2 separate regions of the Homo sapiens genome follow, and region 2 is linked to region 1. Evidence: promoter capture Hi-C in human tissues and cell types (Jung and others, 2019). All regions are on one chromosome and are shown on one strand. Each heading gives the region's core, a stretch centred on a gene start or on the middle of the fragment in contact. The rest is flanking DNA. Distances are from core to core; before and after follow the strand shown. Region 1 holds the start of C8orf33 (chromosome 8 open reading frame 33). Region 2 overlaps ZNF250 (zinc finger protein 250).

The links. Contacts are between HindIII fragments. The study calls those that stand out against the background at their distance.
Region 2: a fragment that was not itself captured here is called in contact with the fragment with the promoter of C8orf33 in region 1 in 3 of the 25 tissues and cell types used here (H1 embryonic stem cells, adrenal gland and dorsolateral prefrontal cortex).

The regions. Positions count from the first base shown.
Region 1 is chr8:145,048,583-145,055,358 of GRCh38, forward strand. It overlaps C8orf33 (chromosome 8 open reading frame 33), which reads left to right and starts at 3,885. Exons shown (of 5, transcript NM_023080.3): 1 at 3,885-3,915; 2 at 4,004-4,315; 3 at 4,480-4,564; 4 at 4,715-4,861; 5 at 5,436-6,776. The coding sequence starts at 3,910. The coding sequence ends at 5,575. RefSeq lists enhancers at 3,311-3,440, 3,481-3,530, 4,459-5,259 and a silencer at 3,741-3,810. The HindIII fragment of the contact is 15,142 bases long and covers 1-6,776 here.
Region 2 is chr8:144,872,657-144,879,432 of GRCh38, forward strand. ZNF250 (zinc finger protein 250) reads right to left here. Exons shown (of 6, transcript NM_001109689.4): 6 at 4,299-6,776. Among named protein-coding and RNA genes, the nearest start is that of COMMD5, 23 kb to the left of the region's middle. RefSeq lists enhancers at 6,381-6,530, 6,731-6,776. The HindIII fragment of the contact is 4,568 bases long and covers 883-5,450 here.

The sequences.
Region 1 (6,776 bases), core at 2,635-5,134:
GGCAGTTCCAGGTAAAGAGAAACCCTATGGGTACAGTGAATATGGGAAGACCATACAGAATTCATACCACTTTCTGGATCAAAAAGAATCAAAGAAGAGACAAAGCCTATGAATCTCATGCATGTGCAAAAACCTTATATTATGTGTCAAAACTTATTAAGTATCAGGGTATGTAGTCTTTAATAGTTTAGAGCCTGTTCAGTAGCAGAAAATCCACTCTATCAATAAACTTTATGAACATAAATACTGTGACAAAGTCTTCAGGCTAATTTTAAGTTTAAAAAATCAGGCTTTATCATAGAAAAAAATGAGAAAAAAATAAAAGTAAAATGTGATCCAAACTTGTAATTATGTTAATGGAGACACAGTATATATAAACATATTTAGATATATGTTTTCTTTCTTTCTTTTTTCTTTTTTTTTTTTGAGACTAGGTCTTTCTCTGTCACCCAGGCTGGAGGGTGGTCGTAGAATTTTGGCTCACTGCAACATCCGCCCCTGCACCATCCCCCTTCCCACCGCTGCCCAAAGCAATCCTCCTGCCTCAGCCTCCCAAGTAGCTGGGACCACAACCGGCTAATTTTTTAAATTTTTTGTAGAGACCATGTTGCCCAGGCTGGTCTCAAACTCCTGGGCTCAGGCAATCTGCCTGCCTTGGCCTCTCAAAGTGCTGGGATTATATGCGGAGCCACTGTGCCCAGCCTGGATATCTGTTTTCTTAAACTGTGTCCTTCAAGGTCAGGGTACTTCTCTTGTTCTTTCACCGTACCCATCCCATTGCCTTATTCATTCAGCCCCTTAATAAATATTTTGGTGTGATTTGCTAACTATGGAAAAATCTTTTCTGAAGACTCATGTTTCCTGCCACAAGAGGAACCATAGAAAATATAGCACTGGAAAGGCAACAGTTCAAATCCAAGGTTATTCATGATTACATCAACCTACAATTACTGTGCAGCCCCTATGTGCCTGGTAGTGTGCCTGACAATGGCAAATCAGAGATGCAGAAACACTTGGCCTCTTTTCCTCATATCTCTCAGTCTAGTTGGGATACAAAGGTATGTAGAGACAGATAACCACATCAGTACAGTAATAGAGGTAAGAATACAGGGTTGAGTGGGGTCCCAGAGGTGGGAGAGGTCTACAGAGATGGCTCATTTTCAAAATTCTGAGAGACAATAACTGTTAACCTCAAATTGTGTTTCTATCCAAACTATCCTCCAGGAATTAGAATAAAAATAGGCATTTTCAGATGAGCAAAACCCAAAACACCATAACAGATTTCATTAAAGGAGCTTTAAAAGGATGTACATTTAAAGAAATGATATCAGAACTGAGATATAAGGAATGATGCCAGGCATGGGAGGCTGAGGTGGGAAGATTGCTTGAGCCCAGGAGTTCAAGACCAGCCTGGGCATCCTGGTGAGACCCCATCTCTACAAAAAATTACAAAATTAGCTGGTATGATGGTGCATGCCTGTGGTCCCAGCTACTTGGGAGGCTGAGGCAGGAGGGAGGATCAGTTGAGCCCAGGACAACCTAGGTGACAGAGTGAGACATGGACTCTAAGAAAAACAAAAGTTGTATATTTGAAAACACTGACTGTAAATAGAATTAAGTCTAATATGGCAGATTTAAAAACAAAGATAGAAATGAAGTCAAGACAAAAATAGCATATGAGTCAGGAAGGTAATGGATAAAATCAGAGCATTGAAAGTGAGGCAGGATAGGTAGTCAAGGAAGTAACCATGTCCTCGGGATGCAGCAACTGTTGTGACTGTGCAATCAGCACAATAAGCCTCTGCCTTCACATTGTGGTTAAGCTCTTTCAAGCAAAACTATCTTCAGTAGAGAATTTCCCCTGCAAAGAGCATGTACATTTTGATTTTACCTGTCCTCAGACTGACCTTTCGCTCATTATAATAGTAAAAAACAGAGCCCTGGTTGGAGGTTTAAGATGCTAATAAGACATGTGACATGTACGAACAATCATATACCAGCATGTAGAACAAGCATTGTATGACAAGAAGCATTGTATGAACAAGCATGTAAGAACATACAGCTACCGCACATGTGCACTCAGAGGACCATCCAGAACATACTCACTAGTAGCACCTCTTCCCAATTCCTTATGAATAATCATGTAAGACCCCCATAAAGGGAGTCTCCCTCATGCGTCTTTGCTGCCCCAACCTTATGAGCAGCTGGCCCTCAATCCTCTCTCTCTCTCTCAGGGTGTACTGTCTATTGTTCACTTAACTTTCCAAATATTCTTTCTCCTTTGTAATAAATTACTGTATGCCGCATCTCCTTTACTGCGTGTCCCGTTTAAATTCTGCGTGTTTTTTTTTTTTTTTTTTTTTTAGATGGAGTCTCGCTCTGTCACCCAGGCTGTAGTGCAGCGGTGCGATCTTGGCTCACTGCAAGCTCCACCTCCCGGGTTCATGCCATTCTCCTGCCTCAGCCTCCCGAGTAGCTGGGACTACAAGTGCCCGCCACTATGCCCGGCTAATTTTTTGGTATTTTTTAGTAGAGACGGGGTTTCACTATGTTAGCCAGGATGGTCTCAAACTCCTAACCTCGTGATCCGCCCGCATCGGCCTCCCAAAGTGTTGGGATTACAGGCGTGAGTCACCGCGCCCGGCCAATCCGCCGAATTTTGGGAGTAATGTATCACACTGCAGTAAATAACTATCAGTGATGACCAAACTGTAACCCTTCGAGACCTTGCAGACCAGGCAGCTAACACTTCCCACCCCACCGTCTCAGGAAACACCGCTTTCCACTCCTGTGTCCCCGAAAGGAATCATCAGACATCTCGGACTCTTACCTTCTCAAGCAACACAACCCACCCTCCTGGCATAGCCCGTTGCCCCCCTGAAACCCTACTCAGCCTCACCTCAACCCCTACGCAATTCCTCTCGGTTGTCATGCCTCCATCGGCGGGGGTCGAGTGTTGTGTGTGACCCCAGGTCTCTAGCAAGGTATAGTGGGAGGGAAGCATCCAGGGGAAGAGAGGTGGTGGGATGGGGCTCTCCCTCTCCCCCATACCGCCACCCTCCCTCACGTCCATATCCTGTCCAAGGCTCTTCCCGCGTCTGCTTCTGAAACCCCTCCACGTCCCTCCACCCCATGTGCCCCACTCGTTACACAAGAGCAGAGAGATCTGCAGAACATACGTCTACGATTATGCCACTCTTCAGATTTACATCTTGCAGCGACTTCCCACTGCGTTAGAACGGAAGTAAGCCCATGACGGGGGCCCTCCCAACTCTCAGACCTCACCCGAGCCTCCACGTCCCGAGACGCCGGCCTCTCAAACGACCGCGCCCTGACCCTCGCTCTTCCCCATTTCCCAGGGTCTTTGCCGACCACCCTCTTGCGCCGTAGCTGCTCACGTGCTGTTTACTTGCTTTTCCCTCCCCACCAAAAGGTGAGCCTTGAGAAGACACACCCTCGTGGAGAGCTTTGAACTTTTATCCGGAAAGGTGCCGGGCACGTAGTCAGCGCCCGCGATCACTCGCTCACAAGGGTTCTTCCGAGACCCCTCTTCAGCCTCTTCCCCGAACCCCCAGGCCCCGCCCCAGCCCCATCTCAGCTTCGTCCCAGGCGCGTCCCAGCTTCGCCCCGTCCCAGCTTCATCCCACCCCAGCCGCGCCCCGCCCCGCCCGCTCCCCGCCCCGCCCGCGCCCCGCCCGCGCCCCGCCCCGCCCGCGCCCCGCCCGCGCCCCGCCCGCGCCCCGCCCGCGCCCCGCCCGCGCCCCGCCCGCGCCCCGCCCGCGCCCCGCCCGCGCCCCGCCCGCGCCCCGCCCGCGCCCCGCGGAACCTAGAGTCGCAGGCGCGTTCTTGAAGGACGGAATTCGGCGTCGGACTCTGCGCCCCGCGTAGTTCCGGTGGCGACTGCGGCGCATGGCGGTGAGCGGTGTGGAGAAGACGCGCGGGTGGCTGGGCCTTGCATTGTTGGCGGCTCTCGGTGACCCTCGTGCTACCCCCCTTTCTCCAGGCCCTGGGACATCTTGCTGGGGAGGCAGCGGCGGCCCCAGGCCCGGGTACTCCCTGCGCGTCCCGCGGAGCCCGGCTTCCCGGCCCAGTTTCCAGCGCCCGGAATCCTTCCACTGTCTGTCTCTGCCCAGAGCAACCTACGTGCAGTAACGCTGACTCCAGAGCGCACCCGTTGGGCGATGAAGGCGGCACAGCGTCGAAAAAACAAAAGAATAAGAAGAAAACGCGGAACAGGGCCTCTGTGGCAAATGGAGGCGAGAAGGCCTCAGAGAAACTCGCCCCAGAAGAAGTTCCCCTAAGCGCTGAGGCCCAGGCAAGGGCGGGCTTCGGTCGGGAAGGGTGGAATCCACGGGTGCGAATCCACGGGCACGTGTGATCTGGGGTCCGCGGAGTTAAGGCGGGGAGGGGCATGGGATGGGGCCGGCGGCTATGGTTTTCCAGTGCCCTCTCACAGCCACTTCCCCAAATCCATCACAGGCACAACAGTTGGCCCAGGAATTGGCTTGGTGTGTGGAGCAACTGGAGCTGGGCCTCAAGAGGCAGAAACCCACCCCGAAACAGAGTAAGGGACCCTTCTGTAGAGCTGGGGGATGTGAACAGTGGCACTGCCTGGCCTGCAGGTGCTGGCAGAGTATGGAGTTGTTGGCTTTGCGGCGGGGTGGTAGGAGGTCAGTAATAGAGGTGTTCACTAGTCCTTTATTTTTATTCGCAGAAGAGCAGGCTATTGGAGCAATCCGAACCCTGCGCAGCAAAAGAACGCCCTTGCCCCGGAAGAGGCAGCTGATGCACTCCTTGTTTGGAGACTATAGGGCTCAGATGGAAGCCGAATGGCGTGAGGCCCTGCGGGCTCTCAGAGCTGGTGAGGAGCTAGCCACTGGTTGATTCAGGAAGGCCTAACTTAAGGAGGAAGTGTCTAGGGGGTGAAAGGAAGAAGGCCCAGAGCAACAAGCCTGGTGGGGGAAGGAGATGGGCTCAGGGAAGCCTGAGGGAGCAGGGAAACAGAAAGCGTGGACCTCTCTTTCCTCTTCCTAGGACTGAACCTGGGAAGCAGCGGGGAGGCCCTGGGAGGAGTGGGAAAGAGCATGGTCCTATGTTGGTCCTGCTCCTGGGTTGGGGAAAGCTGCCTCATGTCTTTGTGTCTTGGCTTTCTCTACTAGCAATGAAGCCATATCCCATAACAGTTTGAGTGCAATTCCTGGGGCCAGATCAGCTAGGTTCAAATCCTGGATCTACCACATAGTAGTACTAACACCTTTTGCAAACTACTGAACCTCTCTAAGTGGGGGATGATAGTAATATCAACCTTACAAATTTGAGGAATTAATCAGTTAATTTATGCAAGGTGGTTAGAATTGTATGGGCAAACATAACTGTACAGGTAATGTTAATTGTTATTATTCAGTTCTGACATACGCTGCTTCTCTCCCCGACAGCTGCTTATTCAGCCCAGGTGCAACCTGTAGATGGAGCCACCAGAAAGAAGAGCCAAAGGGTCTGCAGGCCTCGCTCTATATGGAGAGCCAAAGCCACTCTGGACATGCCTGATGAAGAGTTTAGGTTCAATTTCTTTTAGCGTCTCCCCGAACCTGAAACAATCCCCCTCCCTTGGGGTGGTGTAGGGGTTTGTTTTGAGTGCAGAGCCTTTCCAGGACTTCTGTTGTCAGAGAACCCTGGAGTTGGTCTGTCCCTGGCTGGTCCAAGGATTTGTAGCTGTTGTGAAGGTGTGAGACCATCAGATAGGCAAAAGACCCCGTTCGTTTTCTGATGAAATGTTCTCTCTTTCAGAAGAGAGAGAGAGGTGCATTTAGAAAATATGCAATAAATTGAAGTGAGTGTTCAAAGTATTGTAGAAGGAATATTGTACTCAGTCTTTAGGATTAGATTAAGTGGCTGTTGGTAACAAAGATTAGTGGAGAAGCTGTATAATCGTACACTGGTTTTCACTTTTGAAAGGAATCCCTGTCAAATGGTTTAGTGCTTAATGCTGTTATGTCATATTGCCCTAATCTCTATTTTTGATAAAATTGGATAAGGAGTGAAAGAGTATGCTGACCACCTATGTTAGAGGAAGTACAGAAGATGCAGGGGTGTGGTATCCCTGGGTCCAGTCCCTCACCTGGTACCTTTGTGCATGTTGCCTTCATTCCTGAGCAGGTATCATCCTCAGGGAACCAGCATGGCACCTACCAGGCCAGGCTCTGTTCTTAGGAGCAAGGAGCTTCTTGCGCTAACAGTTCTGGCCTGAGACCTGGATTGAGCCTTGGCAGACTTCTTGTCTAAATGTTGGCCATTCAGTCTCAGGCCCTCTGTTCCATGGAATTGGGAATCTCCAGGTGACCTAATCCTCATTGGTGGCTTGATGTTTGCTGGTATCTTCCAAACTCAGTTCCCAGACTAGATTGATACCTGGAGCCCAGCTGCCTACTCAGCATTTCCACTTGGGTGCTTCATAGGCATTTCAAACCTGATGTGTTTAAAACACTTGATTAGGCTCCGGTTTTCCTTTGGCTTCTGCTTTTCAGTGAATGGCATGACTGCCTATGTGGGTGGCAAGCCACCCAGGTGCCGAGGAAAGAGACTGAGGGCACGAGCTGTTCCAGTATAATAAAATATATAAAATAAGAAGAGTTATACTAGATCTAGATCATAGACATGATTATATGTGAGTATCATTAATCATTAGTTTATAGCAATTACTCTTTATTCCAATATTATAATAATCCTCACTCTACAATCATAACCTAGGAAAAACCAGGCCATACAGAGATAGGAGC
Region 2 (6,776 bases), core at 1,917-4,416, 180 kb before region 1:
GCGACCTATCAGAGGGAAAGCACATTTAGTTGATTATACCAAGGCCTGTGATGGTATTGGAATTAATCTGCATAAGGCTACTCTGCTAGCACAGGCAATGGCAGGACTAAGAGTGGATAAAGGAAATATTCTATTTCCTGGAGCTTGTTTTAACTGTGGGAAGCATGGTCATACTAAAAAAGAATGTAGAAAAAATCAGCGAGTTATGCTGCCAGATAGGGGAAAAGAGAAAACTGTTGAGCCTGAAATATGTCCAAAATGTAAAAAAGGAAAACACTGGGCTAGTAAGTGTCACTCTAAGTTTGATAAAGATGGTAACCCGATTTCGGGAAACGCCATGAGGGGCCCATCCCAGGCCCCATTCTAAACCGGGGCATTTCCAGCTCAGGCCATTCCCTCACCCCTGTACAATGTCTGTCCTCTGCCACAGCCAGTAGTGCCACAGTTGATTTATGCTGCACAAAAGCTGTGAGCCTTCTGCCTGGGGAACCCCCACAAAAGGTCCCAACAGGAGTCTGTGGACCCTTGCCAGCAGGGATGATAGGATTACTTCTAGGCAGGTCTAGCTTAAATTTAAAAGGGGTACAAATACATACAGGAGTCATTGATTCAGATTACAATGGGGAAATTCAAATTGTTATATCTACTTCTGTTCCCTGGAAAGCAGAGCCAGGAGAGTGCATAGCACAGCTCCTGATTGTGCCATATGTGGGAATGGGAAAAAGTGAAGTTACATGAACAGGAGGATTTGGAAGCACAAATAAACAAGGCAAAGCAGCTTATCGGGTAAAGCAAGTTACTGATAAACGTCCTACCTGTGAAATAACTATTCAGGGAAAGAAATTTAAAGGTTTGGTAGATACAGGAGTGGACATTTCAATCATTTCTGTACAGCAGTGGCCGTCCACGTGGCCAATTCAACCCACCCAATTTAACATAGTTGGAATTGGTAAAGCCCCTGAAGTATATCAAAGTAGTTATATTTTGCATTGTGTAGGGCCTGATGGACAACCTGGTACTATCCAACCAGTTATAACTTCTGTACCTATAAATTTATGGGGGAGAGATTTATTACAACAATGGGGAGCACAAGTTCTAATTCCAGAACAATTATATAGCCCTCAAAGTCAACATATGATGCATAAAATAGGGGATGTAATTGTCATGAGTATTTTTCCTTCTTTTGTTAAAAACATGTTTGTGTTGGCCAGGCGCGGTGGCTCATGCCTGTAATCCCAGCACTTTGGGAGGCCGAGACGGACGGATCACGAGGTCAGGAGATCGAGACCATCCTGGCTAACACGGTGAAATCTCATCTCTACTAAAAATACAAAAAATTAGCTGGGCATGGTGGCGGGCACCTGTAGTCCCAGCTACTCAGGAGGCTGAGGCAGGAGAAAGGCATCAACCCGGGAGGCGGAGCTTGCAGTGATCTGAGATTGCGCCACTGCACTCCAGCCTGGGCAACTGAGCGTGACTATGTCTCGGGAAAAAAAAAAAAGTTTGTGCATGTAAACACTTGTACTAAGAATATCTTCATTTTATTTCATTTTCCTTTATCACGTGACATAAGATTTATTGACTTCATATCAGCATTTAAGTATTGTTAACTTTATGTAATAGCATTTGGGTTGGGGATTGGTTTGTTTCCAGTTGTACAAAAGATAGTTGTATTATGTTAGGTATAATTATGACCTTATTAGTGTCTTTATTTGAAGATTATGTATGATCTCAGGAGATGTGTATGGGTTCAAGTTGACAAGGGGTGGACTTGTGATGGTTAATACTGAGTGTCAACTTGATTGGATTAACAAATGCAAAGTATTAATCCTGGGTGTGTATGCGAGGGTGTTGCCAAAGGATATCAACATCCGAGTCAGTGGGCTGGGGAAGGCAGACCCACCCTTAATCTGGTGGGCACCATCTAATCAGCTGCCAGTGAATACAAAGCAGGCAGAAAAACGTGAAAAGGAGACTGGCCTGGCCTCCCAGCCTACATCTTTCTTCCATGCTGGACGCTTCCTGCCCTAGAACATCGGACTTCCAAGTTCTTCCATATATATATATATATATATATATATATTTCTATTAGTTCTGTGCCTCTAGAGAAGCTTAATACACACTACTACCACCCAAAAGTTTCCCCCACTCCAGGGCAAGTCCAACTCCTAGACAAGAAATTCCCAGCTTCTATCACCAGGTCCTCTGTACACTGAGTGGCCGTTGGTGGCCAGAGATTTCCCAGCCTGTTTTCTGGGAATGCCCCCTCTCTCTCAGGGATGCCTCAGGGCTGCCTGGCACATGCCAAGCCCAGTGTGCTGTCATCTTTCTCCAGAGAAGGTGAGAGGTGACAGCATGCTGGCAGCCCTTGCTTGCTCTCGGTGCCTCCTTGGCCTTGGCGTCCACTCTGGCTGTGCTTGAGGAGCCCTTCAGCCTGCCGCTGCACTGTGGAAGCCCCTTTCTGAGCTGGCCAAGGCTGGAGCCGGCTCCCTCAGCTTGCAGGGAGGTGTGGAGGGAGAGGCGTGGGTGGGAACCAGGGCTGCGCACGGTGCTTGTGGGCCAGCGTGAGTTCCGGGTGGGCATGGGCTCAGCAGGCCCCGCGCTCGGAGCTGCTGGCCGGCCTGCAAGCCCTGGGCAGTGAGGGGCTTAGCACCTGGGCCAGCAGCTGCTGTGCTCGACTTCTCACTGGGCCTTAGCTGCCTCCCCATGGGGCAGGGCTCGGGACCTGCAGCCTGCCATTCCTGAGGCTCCCCCTGCCCGCCGTGGGCTCCTGCGTGGCCTGAGCCTCCCTGACAAGCACCGTTCCCTGCTCCACAGCGCCCAGTCCCATTGACCACCCAAGGGCTGAGGAGTGCGGGCGCACAGCACAGGACTGGCAGGCAGCTCCACCTGTGGCCCTGGTGTGGGATCCACTGGGTGAAGCCAGCTGGGCTCCTAAGTCTAGTGGGGACTTGGAGAACCTTTATGTCTAGCTAAGGGATTGTAAACACACCAATCAGCACTCTGTGTCTAGCTCAGGGTTTGTGAATGCACCATTCGTCACTCTGTATCTAGTTAATCTGGTGGGGACTTGGAGAATCTTTATGTCTAGCTAAGGGATTGTAAATACACCAATCAGCACTCTGTATCTAGCTCAAGGTTTGTAAACACACCTGTCAGCACCCTGTGTCTAGCTCAGGGTTTGTGAATGCGCCAATCGGCACTCTGTATCTAGTTACTCTGTTGGGGACTTGGAGAACCTTTATGTCTAGCTAAAGGATTGTAAATACACAAATCAGCACTCTGTATCTAGCTCAAGGTTTGTAAATGCACCAATCAGCACTCTGTATCTAGCTAATCCAGTGGGGACATGGAGAACTTTTGTGTCTAGCTCAGGGATTGTAAATGCACCAATCAGCACCCTGTCAAAATGGACCAATCAGCTCTCTGTAAAACAGACCAATTGGCTCTCTGTAAAATGGACCAATCAAGCAGGATGTGGGTGGGGCCAGATAAGAGAATAAAAGCAGGCTGCCCGAGCCAGCAGTGGCAACCCGCTCGGGTCACCTTCCACACTGTGGAAGCTTTGTTCTTTTGCTCTTTGCAATAAATCTAGCTACTGCTCACTCTTTGGGTCCACACTGCTTTTACGAGCTGTAACACTCACCGCGAAGGTCTGCAGCTTCACTCCTGAAGCCATCGAGACCATGAACCCACCGGGAGGAATGAACAACTCCAGACGCACCACCTTAAGAGCTGTAACACTGACCGCGAAGGTCTGCAGCTTCACTCCTGAGCCAGTGAGACCACGAACCCACCAGAAGGAAGAAACTCTGAACACGTCCGAACATCAGAACGAACAAACTCCAGACACACTGCCTTTAAGAACTGTAACACTCACCACGAGGGTCCGCAGCTTCATTCTTGACGTCAGTGAGACCAAGAACCCACCAATTCCGGACACAAAGGGATGAGTCATACCACTGTCTCCTCACACCGGACATGGGATAGCCACAGCAGAAGCCACTTTATGGCCCAGAGAAATTCCAGGGAAAAAGGATTGTATTAATTGATAACATCATCAGCAATGCATGAAAGCACACATCTCCTCATACCTGGTCATTACAGGATAATCTTTACTAACTGATTAGTGGGTAGCATGTTGTTATTTGTTTTGGGATTGGTACACTTGAGCCTTTTCCAAGCTTCCATGGTTGTATATTCTCTTATTTGGAGTGGTCTGTTCATGTCCTATGGTCACTGATTTGTAGGAGATCTTTATGCCAAAGTTACTGATCTTTCTTCACTGCAAATACTTGTTCCAGTCATTACTTTTTTATTGGAAAGCGTCAGATTATACACAGAAATTCCAGGCAGACTAAAATGTTTTCCAAAATAATAGAAAATTTGAAGAGAACCAAGTTTCAAATTCTTAATAGCTGTTAGAAGAAACAATTTTAAAAGAAATATATACGTATTTTTTGTGACAAGGTCTCTCTCTGTTGTCCAGGCTAGATAGTATGATCACAGCACACTAGTCTTGAACTCCCAATCAATCCTCCCACCTTAGCCTCCCACGTATCTGGGACTACAGGCGCAAGCCACAACACCCAGCTAATTTTTTTTTTGTAGAGACGGGTTTTCGCCATGCTGGTCTCAAAGTCCTGGGCTCAAGCGATCCACCCACTTCAGCCTCCCAAAGTGCTGGGATTACAGGTGTGAGCCATTGCACCCAGCCAAAGAGAAGTATTTAAATACCTAAAATATACAGACTTCTGAATAAAACAAATCCAAAATAAAGGTGGAATGCTGCTGACAAATCAGGCAGAAGATAATGGTTGAGAAGACTGTTATCAGCATGAAAATTCAGGGCCCTGGCCTTTGATGTTATATCCCAAAAAGGTAGATAGCCCACATGTTCCAGTAGGTCATGTGCCACCTCTTTCTCCTTGGAGAGGAGGAGGTGAGTGGCAAGAAAATGTAGCCTGGGAATCCTCCTCAGAAAGAAGGGCATTGAAGCCCACTTCCTGGCTCCGTGGACACCTGAGCCTGCATTCTCACCAGTGGATCAATGGCAGCCTGACATAGCAAGAACAGGCAGAATGATATTAAGCTCATTTTAAGAATGCAGGAAAAAAACTATACTTTTTGGAAGGATTTCCCTGAAAACCCTAGGTTATTGGAATCCAGAATAACTTGTACTGTGTAACTTACGTTGTCCTGTGATACACAGTCTTTCTAAACAAATGTTCCTGTATATTGAATTTAATTATTCTCATCTTAATTGGAATATGACTTTGTCTTTAATGATTAGAAATTGGGGCCTGAATAGTAGTGGGCACTGAGCAGCTGCCACTGAGTCACATGCCAGCTGTGGACTCAGCTAACACAGGTTGGCAGCTTCCTTTCATAGAAGATTTAAGATAGCACCACAGTGTTCTCATTTTCTCTCAATTAATATTGAGGTGACCTCAGGTTTCTGGACTTTCATCTCAGTGATCTCATCTAGGTACCTGGGTGATCTCTTGGCTCTGAAGTAACACCTCAGTAATCTCAGTTCCTCTTTGGACTGTTACCTCAGTGATCTCAGCTCCATTCTGAAGTAACTTCTCAGTGATCATAGCTTTTCCCTAAAGTAACCTCTTTCTAAAGCATCACCCCTAGTGATCTCAACCTTTCTCTGAAGAATCACCTTAGTGATTTCAGCCACCTCTGAAGTTAACACCTGTGTGATCTCAACTCCAGTGAACAACTCAGTTATTTCATCTCCTTTCTAAAGTTAACAGCTTAGTGATCTCATTTCCTTTCTGAAGAATCACATCAGCAGTCTCAGCCTCTCTTAAGTAACATCTCTGTGATCTCAGCTTCTAACACCTGAGGGACACCATCTTGGTCCTGAATAATACCTCAGTAACCTCAGCTCCTCCCTTAAGTAACATCTCATTGGTATCAGCTTTTCTCTGAAGCAGAACCTCAGTGATCTCAGCTCCTAAGTAACATCTCAGCATTCTCATCTTTCCGATGGTACAATATAGTGATTTCACTTCCTTTATGAAATAGCACTCAGTGACCTCCATTCTTCTAGAGTTTCACATTAGTGATTTCAACTTCTCTGAAGAAACACCTCTGTGATCTCAGCTTCTCTGAAGAATTACCTCAATGATCTAATCTCTAAAGTAATACCTTAGTGATCCCATTTCCGTTATTTCAGCTCCTCTGAAGTAAACCTCAGTGGTCAGAGCTACTCTGCAGTACCCACTAGTGATGTCAATTCCTTTCAGAAGTAACACCCAGTGATCTCACCTCCTCTCTGATGAAACACCTCAGTGTACTCAGATCCTCTGAAGTAACAAAAATTGTCTCACTTTCTTTCTGAAGTGACGCCTCAGTGATCTCAGCTCTTCTCCAAAGAAACAGTTAAGCTCTTGTCTTCTCTGAACTAACACCTTAGTTATTTTATCTATCTGAAACAACACCTCACAGAATGGCAACACCTCTAAGGTTAACACCTTGGTTATCTGAGCTATCTGAGGTTTCACTTCAGTGATCTCAGTCCCTCTGAAGTAACACCTCAGTAATATTAGTTCCTCTGGAATTTCACTTCAGTGGTTTCAGTTGCTCTGAAGTAAAACACCAGTGATGTCAGCTCCTTTCTCAAGTTAACCAATCAGTTACCAGTTCCTCTCTGGAGTTAATAATTCACTGTTGTCAGTGTCTGTACATAGAAGGGGGAACAAGCTTTTGTCTACATCGTGGTGTTTTGCTGTGGACTTAAGGATCAATGCCTGGATGGGCAC